Regions from separate parts of the Homo sapiens genome. Here region 2 is linked to region 1. Evidence: promoter capture Hi-C in human tissues and cell types (Jung and others, 2019). All regions are on one chromosome and are shown on one strand. The core of a region is centred on a gene start or on the middle of the fragment in contact, and the rest is flanking DNA. Distances in the headings are between cores, read along the strand shown.

The links. Contacts are between HindIII fragments. The study calls those that stand out against the background at their distance.
Region 2: a contact is called between a fragment that was not itself captured here and the fragment with the promoter of LZTS1 in region 1, in 1 of the 25 tissues and cell types used here (stomach).

The regions. Positions count from the first base shown.
Region 1 is chr8:20,301,227-20,307,040 of GRCh38, reverse strand. LZTS1 (leucine zipper tumor suppressor 1) reads left to right here and starts at 3,078. Exons shown (of 4, transcript NM_021020.5): 1 at 3,078-3,301. RefSeq lists a silencer at 3,019-3,088. The HindIII fragment of the contact is 20,395 bases long and covers 1,704-5,814 here.
Region 2 is chr8:20,351,191-20,357,004 of GRCh38, reverse strand. The region is part of intron 1 of LOC105379314 (a long non-coding RNA gene); the gene reads right to left. Among named protein-coding and RNA genes, the nearest start is that of LZTS1, 50 kb to the right of the region's middle. RefSeq lists enhancers at 1,653-2,176, 3,327-3,949. The HindIII fragment of the contact is 5,426 bases long and covers 1-5,254 here.

The sequences.
Region 1 (5,814 bases), core at 1,829-4,328:
GGAGAGCCTGAGGGATGCAGAGTTTCACATAAGACACCTCTCGGGAACCCAGACACTAAGGAAGGGCAGCGCCCCTTCACTAGACAAGGAAGAAAAGGAGCCACACTGAGAACCTACCGGTGGTGTTGGGGGTAGACACACCCAGCCATTGCATTACCATACCCAACTGCTGAATCAGGGAGCTAATTATGGCTTTGTGCTGCTGGAGACCACATTCCTGAGGCTTTCATGCACACATACGGAACCATAATACATACACACATGCTGTGCTGTCCATCACTGGTCTCCTTCTCCACTCTGCCTTCTCATTTCCAGCCCCACTCTCTATGCATTCTGTCTCTAAAGTATCCCTTCCACAGGGTGTTTCTGTTGTTCCATAGGGTATCCCATTTCCACCGCTCATACACAAACCAACACACTGCTCATACCCTTTGCCTGACTCAGTCATTCCAGGAAGGCTGCACATCATACCCAGCTTTCACCTAGAATGTCACTGACAAAGGTGTCAGTGCTGAAGGAGGGTCCTTAAGGAGTATCTTCTCATCCAAACCATCCACTTTCCAGATGAGGAAACTGAGGCCTCATCAGGGACTCCAAACCATCCACTTTCCAGATAGGAAACTGAGGTCTCATCAGGGACTCCAAACCATCCACTTTCCAGATGAGGAAACTGAGGCCTCATTAGGGACATGGCTTGTCCAAGAGCATATAGTCAGCAGTAGGGCCAGAACAAAAAGTGGGCTTCCAGAGTCCTTTGTCTCTTCCATGGAATCTCACCTCCGACGATGTGAAAATGAGTTTGAAGTCTGGAGCCCACCTCATACCTTAATCTACCTTCCAGGAGTCTGCTCTTTCCTTAAAGCGCTGGAATGTTTGATCGATATTAACTCATTCAGCTAAAATTCTTGAGATACTCTCACCAGCAAGCAAGAATACATGTTCTCTGTCAATAAATGCAACACAAAGAAGCATGGCGCTTTAGAAAAAGAAGACATTATTTTGCCCTGGACGATAAGAGAAGGTGTGAGTAAGGGTTCCATATTTTGTCTCAGATTTTGAGAGGTAGAGTTAGAAGAGCAGGAGAAAAGCTTTTCAGACTGAGGGGCAGGTTTATACAAAGGTGGGGAAAAGGAGGTGATGTTCAGGAAAAGGCTGAGTAGCCTTTGGGGTTGACACTTAGAAATTGTCGTATTGCTTGTAATTACTGCCACGTGTATGTACTTACCGCAAGGCAGTGGGTTTCATTTAATCATCAGAACAAACCTATACATGAGAAATTCATTCATTTAACAAATACATATTGAGTGCCTACTATGTTGCCTGGCAAGTTCTAGGTGTCGGGGATACATCTATGAATAAAACAGACCAAGTCCCTCAGCCACCAATAAAAGAGAACAAGTTCCTGCCTTCAGGGAATTTACACTGGGACTTGTTACCTCATTTCACAAATAAAAAAAGAAAGAAAGAAAAAGAAAAACTGAGAAAGAGGGAGGGGAAGGTAATGGCTCAAATAACAAGCAGCGAAGCCTGTCTGTGTTCTTAAACCCTCGCGGTGCCATCTTTCAGGAAGCCTAGATTCGAAGGTCAGAGTCTTCAGGGTCAACAACCGAAGGCAGTGAGATTCCCCTACAGGGTTTTGAGCAGGGGTGTGGCAGAAACCATATGGCTTGTTTTCCTTTGAGCTGTCCCCCCTGCCACCACAATTCTATTTAATTTTTTTGTATTTATTTATTTATTTATTTATTTTGAGACACGGTGTCACTCTGTCACCCAGGCTGGAGTGCAGTGGCACTATCTTGGCTCACTGCAACCTCTGCCTTCCAGGCTCAAGCAATTCCCAAGCCTCAGCCTCCCAAGTAGCTGGGATTACAGGCTCCTGCCACCACACCCAGCTAATTTTTGTATTTTTTTTTTTTTTTTTTTTTAGTAGAGACGGGGTTTCACCATGTTGGCCAGGCTGGTCTTCAACTCCTGACCTCAAGTGATCCACCAACCTCGGCCTCCCAAAGTGCTGAGATTACAGGCATGAGCCACCGCGTCCGGCCCCCATGCTATTTATAATCAGATCGGCTATGTCAATCCTAATCCATTACATCTATCCCCCACCCCCCAACACACACACACACACACACACACACACACACACACACACACAGGCTTCTTTCAAGATGAGGCTAACACTCCTTGGGCAGAGCTGCCATCTTCCCGCCAAGCCTGGTTTTAGAGGATTAGCCTCAGTGCACCCTCAAGCCCCCAAGCCTCATGCTGCACCTAGCACTCCGGTTAACTGACCCTTTGTCCTACAAAACCTTGTAAGCTTGAATCCTCTCCTGGCTCAGTTGCTAGAAGTTAAAAGTGAGGGTGGTTGAGAAAATGATAGTATTATAAGGGGACTGGGTGAGACTAATAGCTATAAACTTGAAACAGGCCTCTGCTGTCACCTGAAACTCAGCTCCCTCAGAGCTGGAAAAGTTTGCTTTTGACATGTTTTGGGAGTGGGAGTCCCGGTGCTCTGGACTCTAGCCTGTAATCCTGGTGTGGTTCGCAATGCCCCTCACTTGGGTGCTAGTCCAGTCCTTGAACAAAACACACGCCCTTTAGTGCGAGTCGGGAGCGGGAGAGACGGTATTAAGAAAAATAAACTGGCGATTAAGAGGAAGGGGTAATGAAGAAAGGGGAACATACACAGAACGGGAGAAGGAATGGATTTTAAACAAAACTGGAGTAAGAATTTCAGGTAATGAAAGGGAAAAAAGGATGCGACAAGAGCAAGACAGGAACAATCGGAGAAAGGGGGCCAGGCAAGAAAGGAAGACTGAGGGGGCAGGGTCGCCCAATGGGGCTGATGGAAGTGAGAGCAGAGAGACGGGACCCGGGACCCCGCGCAGGCCGCGGGCGCGAAGGAGCCGCGAGGTCGCGAGCAGCCCCAGCTGTCAGCCCGGAACAAAGGCCGCCGAGCGGCACAGACCAGGCTGCCGGCAGCTCGCTGCCAATCAGCGGCGCCGGCTCTGGCCCCGCCCCGGGCCGGCCCCGCCCCGCCCCGCCCCGCCCCGCCCCGCCCCGGCTCCGGGACCCGCGCAGAGGCCGGCGCGCCTGGAGCTGGCGGGTTGGCAGCGGCCGGGCGGGGAGGCCGAAAGTTTCTCTGCCCGCCTCGGCCAGTGAGTGGGAGCCGGGAGCTGCATCCCGCGCAGTGGGACCGGCCCGGCCCGCTCAGCAGCTCTGGAAAAAGAGAGACGGGAACACACCGGGAAACACTGGGAAAAAAAAAAAGTCTCAAGTGCGCCCGAGGCGCAGGGGGCAGGTAAGGTGCGGTGGCCGGGGATCTCCTCGCCCCTGGAGGGTCTGCTGCCCTGGCTGCGGGAAACCGCTTTCCCCTCGCCGGGCCGGACCGTCCGTGCGTCCGCGCGTCCGTCGGTCTTTGTCTGTCTGTGTCCGTGGCTGTCGAGGTGTCTTTGTCTCCGCGTGGAGCTGTCAGGGTCTCCCCTCTGCAGGGTGGGCGCCGCTTCTCCGGCCCGGCCCAGAGGAGGTGACTGTGCGTCTGTCCTCCTGTCTTTGTCTTCGTGTCTCCTGCAGACGGGGTTCGTCTATTCCCAGCACCGATGCTGATCCTGGCGGGGACGTCAGTGTTAGGTGACACTGGTGTCGGAGGTGAAGAAGTGGGAGGTGGGGACGCGAGGCCGCAGGAGCAGGGGCCGCAGGAAGAGGGTCCGGCGGTCGGTCCGGGCCGCTGAACTTCGCCGCCTGGAACTTTGCAGATGAGCTGTGTCCACACCGGTGGGGAGGACACCGGTGCGTTGCAGCCAGAGATTTGAAAGGTTTCCCTCAAGGAATAAGTCACACGGGCGGAGGTGGTTAGAGAGGAAGGTGGTAAATCGAAGTGTCTAAGTGGCTCCCTGGGGCTGCAGCTTCCTGGGGTCGGTCCTGGATGTGCAATTCAGGAATTTAGTCAAAGCACCATGCACACACAGACAGCCCCACACTACCTTCACTTCTTCCACCGCCACCCTAGGCAGCCAGACCTCACCCCTCCACCCTGCCACAGGCTTTGCTCTGGCTGGAGGGGCTTCAGAGGTCGCAGCTTGGCAGCAACAGGCATCCCCGAGACACCAAGGGCCAGGTGATGTCTCTTTTTCGTGCTCCAAGTGGAAAGGTTTGAACTGTGGAGCAAATGAGCCTTGTGCTCGCCCACGAGTATGTCAGGCCTGGGAAAGTGCTCCAGACTTGTTAGCTTCGCAGTCTTCAATTTCCCAGGAATAAGAAGTGCTTAGGGATCTGGCCTCCTAAAGTGTTTCCTGTCTCACTTATTCCCTCCACACCGTCCCGCTGCCATCAGCCCCTCTACTCTCTGGTCCCGGGCGCTGGGAAAGTACTGAGGAGGCACTGAGTTCTGGACCATGCCGGGCAGGCGCTGCTCCTAATAAGGATCCCACACTCTGCTGGAAGTGCAGCCTAATAGGAATGCTGGGAGCCCAGGAGCCCAGCCACAAAGAGATGAGCTATCTGCTTGGCAGTTCCTGCACCAAGACCCTGAGAAGAGTCTGCGGGTACCGGCAAGAGGGTGTTTGCAACCTGAGCTTTCTCTAAGTTCAAAAACAATTTTCTGCAGGCATCCAGAGGGAGAATGGAGGTGCCCGAAGAGTGTGCGCATATGGGTATTAGAGATAGCATGTACAGACGGGAAAGGTGTTTGTGTTTAAGAGTGGAGTGGAACATAGTCTGTGGGTAGAAGTCTGTGGGCAGAGAGCATGCAGGCTAATCAGGCGTGGCGTTACACCTTGTATTTATCCAGCGCTTTTCTTTGGAGGCTCTTTCTGCTCATCATAGACGTTATCTCATACGTTATCTCCTTTATCCTCACAACATAACTACCAGGTTGGTGCGGTGGGCTCTCTGTGCCTGCCAGTGAAGAAACGGAGGCGTCAGAAGGGAAAGGCTTTCCCTAAGGTCCCACAGCTAATAGGATGGAGCAACTGGGAGTCCTAGTAAGAGGTCTCAGCTGGGTGGATGTGAGTGTGGGGCGCTCACTCTGCTTAAGAAGAGAAGAAAACTAGTAGAAAAAGAACGGGCATCTCTGTGGGTGTCTATATGCAAGCAAAAGGGAGGGCGGGACATTTGATGTGCTGAAGATGGTTGTTAGTTAACATTTATAGCAGCGGCTGTGTGCTTCACGAGGTAAACCTGTCTCAGCAGTTCAGCTTGTGCATTTGTGTATCTGCAGGAGGTGCCCCCAGCTGTGTGTGCCTGGGTCGATGTGGGGCAGGGGTGCTGTCATAGAAGGAGTGCTGCTGCGTGGGGTGCCCTGGGGAAAGCCAATGCTTTGGGAGTGTGTGAGGGAAAGATGTGCCTTTCAGTTTTGAGAAGCCGTGGGTCAGCGTGTATAGCAAAGCTATACATGGGCTCCAGACGTATATAAATGGCTTTCTAATCCTGAAAACTTATTTATATGCCTTTGCGCTTATTCAACGTTCATTTCATAAATATTCATTGGGCGCCTACCAAATGCAAGGCTCTGAGCTGTGCAGCGAGGCTAGGAAGATGAATAATGTAATGATGACAGACCTATGGGTAAGCACCTTATAGACCAGTGTAATGGATAATACCGTAACACTTAATGCCAGCCACTAAATCCACTGTGTGCCTGGAACTTTTTATTCATTATCTCATTTAATTTTCACTGCAGCCCTGCGGGGTATGTATAATTATTAGATGAGGAGAGTTAAGTAATTTAGCCAGGCTACAAAACCGAGGGGCAGGGATTTGAGATCAGCTTAGTAAGGTTCTGGACCCTGGCTCTGTCCATGTTATTCTGCTACC
Region 2 (5,814 bases), core at 1,292-3,791, 51 kb before region 1:
AATTAAACCTCTTTTCTTTATAAATTACCCAGTCCCAGGTAGTTCTTTATACCAATGCAAGAATAGACTAATACACTCAGCAATCACAAGGAATGAACTACGCATGCACACCACAATTTGGATGGATCTCAAAGGGATGTGCTGTTCTTTGCCAGTAGCAATCACAGTAAGGATGATACAGACACAAATTTAACGGACATGAAATTTTTTACCAATTAAATGGATACATTGTTTACTTTCACTTTTTATTATAAATAGAAAATTGTTTTCTAAAACTAAAATATTTGAACTATCAAAGTAATATACTGAGTGAGGGAAGCTGACCAAAAAAAACCTACATACCCTATAATTCTATTTCTTTTTTTGTTTTGCTTTGTTTTTGTTTGTTTCTTTGTTTGTTTTTAGAGATAGGGTCTTACTCTGTCATCCAGGCTGGACTGCAATGGCACAATCATAGCTCACTGCAGCCTTAAATTCCTAGGCTCCAGCAATCCTCCTGCCTCAGCCTCCCAAGTAGCTAGGACTATAGGTGTGCACCACCATGCCCAGTTAATGTTTTATTTATTTTTGTAGAGATCAGGTCTCTCTATGTTGCCCAAGCTGGTCTTGAATTCCTAGCCTCAAGGAATCCTTCCACCTTGGCCTCCCAAAGTGCTGGGATTACAGGCATGAATCACCATGCCAGGCATGTATGATTTCCTATATGTACATCCTAGAAACTGCCAACCAATCTAGAGAGACAGAAAGCAGGTGGGTGGTCACCTGGGGAGGAGGATGTAGGAGGGATGGGCAGAGGGTCACCAAACTGAATGACGAAGCTTTGGCGGTGATGGACATGGTCACAGTTGTGATTGTGGTGATGGTTTCACAGGTGTATGCATGTGTCAAAACATATGGAGGAACACACTTTAAACATGTTAATTACACCTAAATATGTTAATTACACCTGACACTTTTCAAAAGAAGACATTTATGCAGCCAACAAACATATGGGAAAAAAAGCTCATCATCATCACTGGTTTTCAGAGAAATGCAAATCAAAACCACAATGAGATACCATCACGCCAGTTAGAATGGTGATCATTAAAAAGTCAGGAAACAACAGATGCCGGAGAGAATGGGGAGAAATAGGAACGTTTTCACACTGTTGGTGGGAATGTAAATTAATTCAACCATTGTGGAAGACAGTGTGGTGATTCCTCAAGGATCTAGAACCAGAAATACCATCTGATCTCACAATCCCATTACTGGGTATATACCCAAAGAATTATAAATCATTCTACTATAAAGACACATGCACACGTATGTTTATTGCAGCAGTATTCACAATAGCAAAGACTTAGAACCAACCCAAATGCCCATCAATAACAGACTGGATAAAGAAAATGTGGCACATATACACCATGGAATACTATGCAGCCGTAAAGAATGAGTTCATGTCCTTTGCAGGGACAAGAATGAGTTCATGTCCTTTGCAGGGACATGGACGAAGCTGGAAACCATCATTCTCAGCAAACTAACACAGGAACAGAAAACCAAACACCGCATGTTCTCACTCATAAGTGGGAGTTGTACAATGAGAACATATGAGCGCAGGGAGGGGAACATCATACACTGCGGCCTGTCAGGCAATGGGTGGCAAGGGGTGGGATAGCATTAGGAGAAATACCAAATGTAGATGACAGGTTGATGGGTGCAGCAAACCACCATGGCACACGTATACCTATTTAACAAACCTGCATGTTCTGCACATGTATCCCAGAATTCAAGTATAATTAAAAAAAAAAAGAAATGAAAATCATCACACACACACACACACACACACACACACACACACACACACAAAAGAACGTCTGGAGGAAGGGCAATTAATTTATCAGGTGACAAGTCTTACAACTCAAGGCCTGCTGAGAGGAATGCCAGACAGATAAGAAACAATTTGCCAGGAGATCACTGAGAGGTTCCTGACACCCAGGAGGCCCAGGTGCCTGAGGAGGGGCAGCAAGCAGGCAGAGTAGATGAAGTCTACACACAGAGCACCTGTGACCCATGTTCCTCCCTGCCCCATCCGCAGGGGTGCCTGCTCCTCCAAGATTAGACTAAGGACAAAATAACCCAGCCTGAAGTCCCCAGGGACTGGACTCAGGTGTCTGGACTGAGGAAAATCCCTCTGGTACCCACTGTCCTTTCCTCTATGACACTCAACCAGCTGAGTACGGCCCCTAAACCAGCTCATCCGCTTCAAATATGGGCTCCAGCTATGACCAAAAGAAAGTGTCTTAACATGCGTGCTGTGAGTCCTCCGCAAAGTAGGGACAGTAATACGAATAGCTCCTGGCTACAGGACTTCAGTGACATCCACTTAGAGCACTGCCTGGCACCTTGGAAGGATCTGTAGCTGCTGGCACTTCCATCTTAAGAGATCTATACAGAGGAGACGACTTTTACATTTGTTTTTCTTTTCATTCCTGTTGAACTGCATGTTCTCTGGTAGGTCTTCGGACCATGGGGTTTCTTTGTGTCTGTCCTCAGGATATACTCCCAGCTTCTGAATTTAAATCTATGTTCCATGCAGTCTCCTGAATTCCATGGAAATGCCATCTCAACGAACTGGTCACAAATCTTCCAGGAAACTGAATTTCTCTCTTCCCTTCACTCCCCTTACCACTATCCCTGCCAACATGTTCTTCCCATGAACATCGCTCCAACCCACAGCTCCAGCACCATATCCCACTGAGGGTAGGATTCCCATCCCCAGGCCCCTGTGGAGAGGGCAGGGCAGCTGGCTCTGCTGGGTGCACTTCTCAGTTTCTTTTCATCAGCATATCTGATGTCCAATTGTATTTTGAGTACTTCACTTTCATGCAGTTAATTATTTAGTTTTAACCTACAAGATTTGCAGGAAGATCTTTGTTTTCATGAAACCAACTATCATCTGCAAATTAAAAACAGTTGCTGTCAAGTACTCAGATCTGAATGTGTGTGCAGGATGTTACCTGTTACATTCAACAGGGTGTGATGGTTGGTCAAGAGGGTTAGCGATTGCCTTTCACGAAACTGTAAACACCACCCCCTCTGTCTAGCAAATGGCCCAGCTCTAGCTTGTGTGGCCAGTGGGTGGGGACAGGAGAGAGGAAAAGGAAAAGGAGGAGGTGATGCCCCGTGATGGGTCCCCAGCAAACTTTTCCCTCGGCCCTCACCCCACCCCATCCCAAAGCTCTTCCTCATGATGACACAGGATTATTTATTTTGGGAAAATGTGACAGGGAGGGGCTGAACGGTGTGAGGTGGGTAAGATGCTTGCATCGTACTGCCTGGGTTTGAATCCTGGTTCTGCTCCACAGTAGCGACTGACCTTCAGTAAGACACTTATTGACTTCCCTGGGCGTCAGTTTTCTCATCTGTAAAATGGTGCCATGAATAGTACCTGTCTCATAAAATTGTTATAAAGTGTATGTGGGATAAATTATCTAGTCCAAAATTTTAAATTTAGGGACCAGTTGGAGAGTCTAAGCAGACAAAGAGAGAGAGAGATCACTTACCCAAGGGCAAAGGGCTAATTGTAGCTTGGGGACTAAATCCAAATCTCCAGGCTCCCAGTTCAAAACACGTCCCCCCACCAGAGCATGAATGGTCCTAAGCACACTCTATTAAAATGCAAATGTTCCCCAGGAGGTTTAACTCCAAGTTATTAGCACCTTAATGTGAGGGATGTGAATTGGGTTAACATGCTTCTTTTTTCTTTTAATTGAACTCGATCTGGTTCAAAAGGAGTACAGAAGGGGAGTGGGAGGGGGGAAATTGAGCCCATGATTTTGGCAGGGCTCTAATACTGCATCTTGCATCAGGAAAAAAGCATCCCTTTGCCCACTATCAGGGAACAAGGTGGAGATTCAGGCTCCAGGATCAGGCACACAATGAAAAGCACTGCTCCCAAATATTTGGCATCTGAGAAAGAAACTGGGATCCAAAACTGGAGTTTTAGGTGGGCCTGGGTGTTGCCCATGCAGAAGGAGAAGCCTGTGTGCCCAAGCAGAAGGAGACAGAGAGCACTCCAGAGTCCCCAGCAGCTGTCCTGGAAATGAGATGGCAAGGGCAAGACAAGGCGTGAATTCTCCACTCAATCACTCACTCACTCACTCATTCAGCCACATATCGTGATTGTCAGAGGCGTGTAAACCAGAGCAACTCCATCTTAAGTAGGGGCTGGGTAAAATGAGTCTGAGACCTACTGGGCTGCATTCCCAGACACTTAAGGCATTCTAAGTCCCAGGATGAGATAGGAGGTCAGCACAAGATGCAGGTCACAAAGACCTTGCTGATAAAACAGTTTGCAGTAAAGAAGCTGGTCAAATCCCACCAAAAACAAGATGGAGATGAGAGTGACCTCTGGTCATCCTCACTGCCACACCACCACCAGCACCACGACAGTTTACGAATGCCATGGCAACATCAGGAAGTTACCCTATATGCTTTAAAAGGGGGAGGCATGAATAATCCACCCCTTGTTTAGCATGTAATCAAGAAGTAACTACAAAAATGAGCAACCAGCAGCCCTCGGTGCTGCTCTCTCTATGGAGTAGCCATTCTTATATTCCTCCACTTTTTTAATAAACTTAATAAAAGGATCGGGACCCCTTTCCTGTAACAAAAGCATCTGCTCTATGCCAGAAACGAATGGCGGTCTCAGACCTCAGGGAATGGACGCTCTCACATTCCTTAAGCACCGGCAGTCTTGTGAGCTGCTAATGGTGGAAGTGATGTCTAATCCAAGCATTGAAGCCTCAACCCAACAACCAAGATGTAGCCCAAAAAATCCAGTGGCAATCCTGTGGTCCCCTCCTTCAAGGAAGGTGAGGCTACAGTTAAGTCGCTGAAGTTCCTCAGCTTCCCCACTACTTTGAGAGAAAATACAAATACTAGGTTGTTTTTTGTTTTTCTTCTTAATCTTCTAAGTTTAGACCTGCTTCTCTGAGATCCTTACGTAGGGAACAGTGGACTAGAGAAAATACAAGAAGGGAAATATCTTGTCAAAGAGGGGATGCCTTCTTTTCATTATTCAACTCATATTTGCAAGGACTAACTATGACTTTAAAATAATATCTCATTTGATCCTCACGAATTCTATGAAGGATAAAGATTACAAAAGGTGTGTTTGTTACCCAAGGCCTACATAAGGGGCAGAACGGGGAATTGAAGCCAGCTTAAGCTGATCCCAAAGCACAGGCTCTTCCTGTGTGTGGCTTCACACTGCCTCTCCATGGCGCCCCTCAGTCCCCTATGCATTTGTTCCTTCACCTCCTCGCTACTCAAATGCATTCTCTACACAATTTGCCCTGCCCTACAGTAGTGGTCCCCAATCATCTTGTAGAGTTAACAAATCACCCAGCATCCCTACCAAATCATCTCTGTTTAAGAAAAAATTCCTCAAACCAGCCAAGCGCGGTGGCTCACGCCTGTAATCCCAGCACTTTGGGAAGCCGAGGCGGGCGGATCACCTAAGGTAGGGAGTTTGAGACCAGCCTGACCAACATGGAGAAACCCGGTCTCTACTCAAAATACAAAATTAGATGGAGGTGGTGGCGCATGCCTGTAATCCCAGTTACTCGGGAGGCTGAGGCAGGAGAGTCGCTTGAACCTGGGAGGCGGAGATTGCAATGAGCCGAGATCGTGCCATTGCACTCCAGCCTGGGCAACAAGAGTGAAACTCCGTCAAAAAAAAAAAAAAAAAAAAGAAAAGAAAATTCCTAAAACCAAAAGTCACCACGAACTCTGTGATGCTTTACAATTAATTCACATTTTAATAATCACAAC